Linked DNA regions of Homo sapiens: all the other regions are linked to region 3. The links are contacts of gene promoters, found by promoter capture Hi-C in blood cells and fetal thymus (Javierre and others, 2016). All regions are on one chromosome and are shown on one strand. The core of a region is centred on a gene start or on the middle of the fragment in contact, and the rest is flanking DNA. Distances in the headings are between cores, read along the strand shown. Region 1 overlaps GRM1 (glutamate metabotropic receptor 1). Region 2 overlaps GRM1 (glutamate metabotropic receptor 1). Region 3 holds the start of RAB32 (RAB32, member RAS oncogene family).

The links. Contacts are between HindIII fragments. The CHiCAGO score rates a contact against its expected background, and 5 or more counts as called.
Region 1: a fragment that was not itself captured here is called in contact with the fragment with the promoter of RAB32 in region 3 in 1 of 17 cell types (M2 macrophages); the score reaches 5.8 in M2 macrophages.
Region 2: a contact is called between a fragment that was not itself captured here and the fragment with the promoter of RAB32 in region 3, in 1 of 17 cell types (endothelial precursors). The highest score is 11.5, in endothelial precursors.

The regions. Positions count from the first base shown.
Region 1 is chr6:146,277,519-146,280,218 of GRCh38, forward strand. All of the region lies in intron 2 of GRM1 (glutamate metabotropic receptor 1), which reads left to right. Among named protein-coding and RNA genes, the nearest start is that of GRM1, 250 kb to the left of the region's middle. The HindIII fragment of the contact is 1,783 bases long and covers 417-2,199 here.
Region 2 is chr6:146,050,313-146,053,012 of GRCh38, forward strand. The region is part of intron 1 of GRM1 (glutamate metabotropic receptor 1); the gene reads left to right. Among named protein-coding and RNA genes, the nearest start is that of GRM1, 23 kb to the left of the region's middle. The HindIII fragment of the contact is 2,597 bases long and covers 28-2,624 here.
Region 3 is chr6:146,542,459-146,545,158 of GRCh38, forward strand. RAB32 (RAB32, member RAS oncogene family) reads left to right here and starts at 1,375. Exons shown (of 3, transcript NM_006834.5): 1 at 1,375-1,663. The coding sequence starts at 1,414. RefSeq lists a silencer at 949-1,328. The HindIII fragment of the contact is 5,944 bases long and covers 1-2,236 here.

The DNA.
Region 1 (2,700 bases), core at 58-2,557, 270 kb before region 3:
ATCAAGATTTGAGCGAGTTCCCCTGGCTTACAGACTTTGGCAAATGTTTTTACACATTTCAAGAATTAAGACTATCCATGCAACTGCCTTGGGGGAAGACACCTGGAACCTTGCTCCTGGTTTCCCCTGGACTTGACTTCTTACACTTTTTCCCTTTGATGTTTTAATCTGTATCCATTTGTTACAATATATTGTAACTGTGAATGTTAACAGTTGTTCAAGTCTCATGAGTGATTCTAGTGAATAGTTGAGACTGAGGGTGAATTGTGCCTGCCTCACCCCAAAGTATGGTTCAAGACAGTCTTTTAATTAATAATATCACTTAAGAAAGCTTTCCTAAATAATTAAATTAATAATATCACTTCAGAAAGCTTTCCTAAAATGCTTCTAAAGTCAAGCAAGATTTTTTAATTAAAAGCTTAATAGTTAACTTTAAATTACATTAAGAGAAAAAAATTTACTGAAAACATACTATCTTTAGGCTATCTGAGATTTTTAAGTATCTATTACCAAGTTTTCAACTTTCAGTGATTCCAGATCATTTGGATTCAAGATTAAAGTGATTATATTTTTTCTCTTTGATTCATTATTATAATATCCATTTGATAAAGAACCCCAAAAGAAATATCATTATGTACCTTCAAATCATATTTATTTGGAAGACTCATTAAAAACCAGAAGCTATGTTGTACTTTAAATATATTATCTTTAGTTTTTAATTTTCAGCATAATCAGGTGATATAATATTAATGTTGCTTTATATGTGAGAAAAATTGGGCTTAGAAAGTTAAAGAGATTACTCCAGGCATACTACTGGATGTGGCATAGAGAGTATTTGGATTAGGGTCTATTAGGAATTAAGTTCATGCTTGTTCTATTGTGTTACTCCATATATTCACCCTTAATGACATGTTACTTATTCTGCCTCTGGTAGTAGAGAGAGTAAGCTGCTTGTACATCAATTTTGCTTCTTCCAGCTGGGCGTGATAGCTCACTCCTGTAAACCCAGCATTTTGGGAAGCCAAGGCGGGCGGATCACCTGAGGTCAGGATTTCAAGGCCAGCCTGGCCAACATGGTGAAACCCTGTCTCTACTAAAAATACAAAAATACAAAAATTAGCCGGGTGTGGTGGTTGATGCCTGTAGTCCCAGCTACTTGTGAAGCTGAGGCAGGAGAATCACTTGAACCTGGGAGGCTGAGGTTGCAGTAAGCCGAGATCACGCTACTGCACTCCAGCCTGGGTGACAGAGTGAGACTCTGTCTCAAAACAAAACAAAAACTTTGCTTCTTCCTTAAATATTTAATGGAAATCAACAGAGAAGTTATATAGAGCTAGAGGTTACGCCCGGCTAATTTTTTGTATTTTTAGTAGAGTCGGGGTTTCACCGTGTTAGTCAGGATGGTCTCAATCTCTTGACCTCCTAATCCGCCCGCCTCGGCCTCCTAAAGTGTTGGAATTACAGGCGTGAGCGACCGCGTCCAGCTGAGAATGTTTTTTATTGCAAATTCATTTTTATTAACAGATATTGTAATTGTAACCATTAAATTCTTCCTGAGTCCATTTTTCTATTGTGTCTACCAAGGAATTTTAAAATTTCTTTTAAACTGTCAACATTATTGGCATAACATTTTTATAATAATTTCTGTTCCTTTTAATGTGTATGGAATCAATAGTGATTTTTAATTCATTGCTATTATTGATCATTTATATCTGCTCTCTGTCTCTCTCTTTCAGTATATCTAGAGGTTTATAAATGCTGCTAATAATTTCAAATAATGACTTTTGGTTTCTTTGATTTGCTTTAACTTCTATTACATACTCTCTTTTTTTACATACTTTTGATTTAGTTTGATATTAATTTGCTAGGTTACTAAAGTTGAAACACATTAATTTTAAATATTTTTATTTATCTTTCATATGCATTTAGAGATATAAAAATTTTTTAACCACTGTTTTAACTGTATCCCATAAATTTGAATAGACTGTGTTTTAGTTATTATTCAGTTAAAAAATTTTCTATTTACCTTTGACATTTGTTCTCTAACTGTGAATTATTTATAAGTGTGTTGCTTAATTCAAAATATTTGGTGATTTTTCCAGATTGTGTTATTATTGATTTTTATGTTTAATTCTGTTGTGGTGAGAGAACATTATTTGTATCACTTAATCCTTTGAGTTTTAGTGAGCTTGTGGCCCAAGCTTTTACTTATATAAAAACACCATTTTTTTGCCATCATTTAAAAATAATATTATACTGACTATAGAAATGTAGGTTGATGGGTTTTATTTATTGATTTTTTTTTCATCACTTGCCTTCTTGCTTGCATCATTTTTCTATGACAAGGGCGTGATAATTCTTATTTATTATTGTTCACCAGTGTGTAATTTATCTGGCTGCCTTTGAGATTTTCTCTTTTACTTTGGTTTTCAGAAATGTGGTGGGACTAGGTGTGGTTTTCTTTGTATTTATCCTGCTAGGATTTTATTGAACTTCTTGGATGTGTGGGTTGATTTCTTTTGGTCAAAATTGACAAGTTTCATCATTATTCATTCAAATACTTTTTTCATTCTAATTGCTCTCATCTTCTTGGACTTCAATTATGTGCACATTTCTGCCACCCTGAACTATGAATTTTATTTCTTCCACCCACCAAGACCCCAGCTCTCTGGTGTGTCTAGTGCTGTGATTTGGATAATG
Region 2 (2,700 bases), core at 76-2,575, 490 kb before region 3:
TCTCTAGAAAAGGCAGTTCTACTCTAAAGCTTGCTCCTGTTTGGCTGCAAGTAACAGATAGAGGGAGGCATTGTCAGAGGGTAAGAGTAGCTACACACTGATTTGTTTTAAAGCACACTTGATCCTTGAAAAACCTTCAAACACAGTAACTCCTGGAAATGATGATAAAAAGACATGCCTTCTTTTCTTCTGTATTTAGAACAATTCTATAATTAAAAGAAACAAACATATCCATATTTCTAAAAACAAGGGATATTTTTAAGAGGGGGGAGGGGAAGAAAAGCTATATCTTCTCTTTGGAAATTTCCAGGGCATTAGTAATGGGAGTTTACTGCATTTTGAAATTTGACAATACTCTTAGCTGCTCATTCTCCAAAGCAGAATCTACACACTGCCAATTAATTTTCCATTGTAGTGTTAGTTCATGCAGAAGCCAGCCTCTCTTACTTAGTCCCTAGTGTGATTACGGCATATGCCTATGAGATTCCTGTTTGTTTGTTCATTTGCTTTTGTGGAAGGAATTCCGGTATTAGGCTCATTTGATTGGACCAAATAAAGCTGATGACCTGTGAACCTGTGATCCAGTGAGGAGGATACATAGAGTCTATGGTTTCATAACAGAGCGTTGCAATCAACCCTTCCTGGGAAGGTCTACCAGTGACTTTGGCTTACCAAAAGAGCTACTAGCCTTTTAAATTTTGGTTCCTCCATTTGTAGTTATAGTTCAAGCAGACACATAATAAAAAGTCTGGGTATGAAGGAGGGGGATTAGTGGTTAATAAGGAGACTTGGACTCAGACACATCTGCTTTCTTACCCTATCTTAGAGCCGTGTGACTTTAGGTGAGTCACTGAGACTCTCTAAACCTACTCCTCAAATCTGCAAACCAGAGATTATAATTGTACTTACTTCTCATGCAGCTAACAAGATAATGGCTAGCATATAATAAGAACTCAATAAAATACATAAACATACACACATAAGCTAATAAGGTGGTGGTCTGATATTGTGTATCCTACAGTGGTTAGCTTCTATTGGAAGTGACTTCCCCTCCATCTGTAAATATGATACAGTGCTCATCCTAAGTCTTTTTCAGAGACCTACACTGGAGCTAGCACATAATTTACTGATAAAGGGGAAAAGAGGAAGATTCATATAGAGAATAGACTGAGAGCCTCTTAGGCATCTAACTGCTCCCATCCCTTGACTGCTTTGCATCTGGAAAATTTGCAGTGTTTAATATGCTCCTGTTAAAAGGTAATGCCTTTGGAAAATATAGCACTTAAAGCTATGATCAGTTATGACTTCAAGATTTTCAGATAAGTGGTTAGGGGGTCATGACAGAGTAGTGCCTGCAGCGGGGAGCCAGTCCTTCACAGGCCAGTTGGAAGACATCAAAGGTTATTCCTATTTCATAATTGTTAGTGGATTTTAGCTATGAACATATGTATAGCATTTCCTGAAGTTTCCTGAGAATCATCTTTAATCATCATCACTACTGTTTCCCAAGCACCCTTATATAATCTTCTTGGTTTATATAAACTAATGGCTTCTACTCTGTACAAGGTTGCGATTTGAAAAGGCACTGGGAAGAAAATACCAGTTGCAAAGGGTGGTGGAGGCTGAAGTCATGTCAACAAGATCATAAGGCTGAAACCAGATATTTGTAATGCTGCTTGTAACTTTCTCGAGAGTAGGATATATCTTATATCTCTTCTGATTTATATAGCACTTATTACAACTCCTTGTACATAGGCTGAAAATGTTAGTTTAAATAAATTGACATTACAAAGTAGGATTTTTTTAAATTTTAAATCAGAGTTGTGAGGCTGTGAGGAAAACATGTTCTTTATTTGTCTGAGGGAAAGAATTAGAGATTGGGAGCAATTTCTGTAACCAAACTTTCCTCAATATTATATTTACTTTATTACATTCCATTTTCTTAGTCATTTATGGGCCATAAATTCAGCCTCTCTGTTGTTTATAACTTAAGTTTTTATTTTTTAATTTTTGTTTAGGGCACTGGTTGTCACTTCTGGCTGCTCATTACATTTATCTAGGGAGCTTTAAAACCTATAGATGCCCAGCCCCAGCCGTGGAGGCTCTGCTGGAGCCTGGAAATCAGACTCAGGTGTTCACAGCCCTTCCCATGGGGAGAAGGATGGGGAGTTAGGGAGAGAAAGGGGTAAAGAGTGTGTCTAGCATTGCAAATGTATAGGGTGAGTCTGCCTAGTATCATCTGGTATCACCTATCCCATCCCACTCAGCCATGGGTCTCCTTGCCATCCTTGAGCACATGAAGGATGTACCCTCATTAATGCCTTGGTGTTGGCTGTTTCCTCCAGCTGAAATCCACTTTCTTCAGCTATTTTTGTGGCTGGCTGCTTCTTTTCATTTAGATCTTAATTCAAATATCATTTCCTCAGGAATCCCTTCTCTATATAAAGTATAACCCTTCCCCTTTCACTTTCTATCCTGTTGCTTTGTTGTGTTTACTTTGTGCCATTTCCTACTATTGGAAATTATCTCATTTATGCAATTCTTTACATATTTGTTGTTATACTCACCTACTAACAGGACACCGTCATATTTCCAGAACCTAGAACAATGCCTGATGCCCCAAAAGCTTGAAGTATACATTTTTGAAATAAAAAAACCCCGGGGTTTTATGTTTATAACAGGAAAGACAAATATGTGACT
Region 3 (2,700 bases), core at 125-2,624:
ATATGCGCGCGTGCATGCCTATGTATGTATTACAATTTCTTTATCCATTCATCGTTAACAGACACTTTGGTTGTTTCCAAATCTTCGCAACTGTGAATAATGCTGCATGAACTTGAGAGCGATTTCTGAGATCCTGATTTCATTTCCTTTGAGTATACACCCAGAAGAGGGATAGCTGGGTCACTGGCTTTAGCAACGATTTTTGCAATATCACACCAAAAGCCCAGGCAACCAAAGCAAACCTAGATAAATGGGACTTCATCCAACTAAAATGCTTCTGCACCGCATAGGAAATAATCAACAAAATGAAAAAACAGCCTATAGATTGGGAGAAAATATTTGTGAGCCATATATCTGATAAGGGGTTAATATCCAAAATACATTACGTTCACAGAACTCAGCCAAAATAAATAAATAAAACACCCAGTTAACTAACGGGCAAAGGATGTGAATGGACTTTTTTTTTTTTTCCAGAGGAAGTACAAATTGCCAACAGGTATAAGAAAAGGCGCTCAAAATCACTAATGAACAGGGAAAAGCCACTAGGTATCTCCTCACACCTGCTAGGATGACTGTTATAAAAAAGATAAGCGATAATAAGTGTCGGTGATGTGCGGAGCAAAGGGAACCTTGTACACTGGTGGTGGGAATGCGGACTGGAACAGCCATTATGGAAAACCCTACGGAGGTTCACTCAAAAAGTTAAAAACAGAACTACCAGCCCAGTGTTATCCGTCCTTCGTTAAGTTCAAAGTCACGGTGCCACTTCCTTTCCCATCTAAAGGGGACTGCTCGCGACCCAAGCCAAGGCCCGCAAGTGTGGCTCTCCCTGCGGGGAGAGTAGGGCAGGAGGTGGATTTCCAGGCCAGAGGCTTCCAGGCTGGGCCCGGACCCCACGCCGACCCCGGCCCCGGGGGGGGCTCAGCGACCTCGGCGCCTCCTCAGGCCCCCAGTGAACCTCCGGGGCCCATAAAGGCTCCAGGCCGGCTCCCCGGAGGCCCACCAGCGGGCGTCTGGGCCTCCCTCCGCGCCGCGACCGCCAGGAGGCGCCGCCCGGGAGAGGAAGTCCAGCTGGGCCCGGCCGGGCTTCGGAGGCGCCGCCCGGGAGAGGAAGTCCAGTTGGGCCCGGCCGGGCTTCAGAGGCGCAGGGCGGGAGCCGCCTCGCGCAGGGTCCTCCCCAAGCCGGCGCCAGGCCCTGCCCTCGTCCGGCCCTGCCCTCGTCTGGCCCCGCCCGGGCCGCGAGCACTGGCGGGTTCTGGGTCCTGTGACCGGTCAGGCGGCGTCAGCGGGCGCGGCGGAGGGCTGGCCGGCCTCGGGGGAGTTTCCGCGGCCGCCGGGGGCGCGGCGGCAGAGCGCGAGGCCGGGCAGGGGGCCAGACTCGGAGTCGAGGCGCGCCCGACAGCCGCAGCGCTCATGGCGGGCGGAGGAGCCGGGGACCCCGGCCTGGGGGCGGCCGCCGCCCCAGCGCCCGAGACCCGCGAGCACCTCTTCAAGGTGCTGGTGATCGGCGAGCTTGGCGTGGGCAAGACCAGCATCATCAAGCGCTACGTCCACCAGCTCTTCTCCCAGCACTACCGGGCCACCATCGGGGTGGACTTCGCCCTCAAGGTCCTCAACTGGGACAGCAGGACTCTGGTGCGCCTGCAGCTGTGGGACATCGCGGGTAAGCGCGGCCGCGAGTTTCCCACTCCAGAGCCCCGCCGGGCCGCCTGGCTCCTCTCTGCTTCTTTTCTTTTTCTTTTCTGCCTGAACTCGTCTGCCTGGGTACCTTTAGGAGAAGAGAGAGGCCCAATCCAAGGGCGAGATGCGATGGACGCGGTCGGCTGGACTCGGTGGGGCCCAGAGGATGGGATGGGCAGTAGGAGTTGGAGCAGGTCCTGCACGCCAGAGCTCGCTCTCCTGAAGGGAGGCGAGGAGGCCAGGGGGCCTTTTCCAGAAGTTTGAACTCTGAATAATGCAAGTATATCATACATACACCAGGACTAGTTGAGAAGGCTGCTTTGGAGCGGGCCGGCGCCTCTCAGCCTCAACTCAAGTTCAGAGGGATTGGGTGACTTAACCCGAAGCTGCACTCCTAGTTAGTGACACCACCAAGACCAAAAGCCAGGTTCCTTTCCAGATCATTTTCCACCACCCGCCTTGGCTCTGAGACTGGCCTTTGTGAGGGAAACTCCATTCCTCAAATACTTTGCTCTCATCGGAAGCCGAGGACAGACACTCCGTGAAGATTTGGGAAAGCTTTTCTGAAACCTTACACTCACCCCTTCCTCTCTTGCTAAACCAACACCTAGTCCCATCCCTGGTGCCCTCGCCCCCCCCCGCCCCCCCCCCACTCCTCAATACAGTGTTTCTCTGCCATTTGCTTTCATTTGTTCTGTTTGAGGGGGTACATTTCCCTCTGCTCTGATTTATGAACACTTGAACTTTGCCTGGTGTGGTGGTTGGGAGTGGGCGTTTTAAAGATGATGTTAACTATTGGAAAGTTCATAGAAATGGTACCAAGCCAAGTGCCAGTGGCTCACGCCTGTAATCCCAGCACTTTGGAAGGCCTAGACTGGAGGATCGCATGAGCACAGGAGTTCGAGACCAGCCTGGGCTGTTAGTGAGACCCTGTCTCTACAAAATACATACATACATATATACATACATACATACAAAAAATTAGACAAGTGTGGTCGTGCGTGCCTGTAGTCCCAGCTA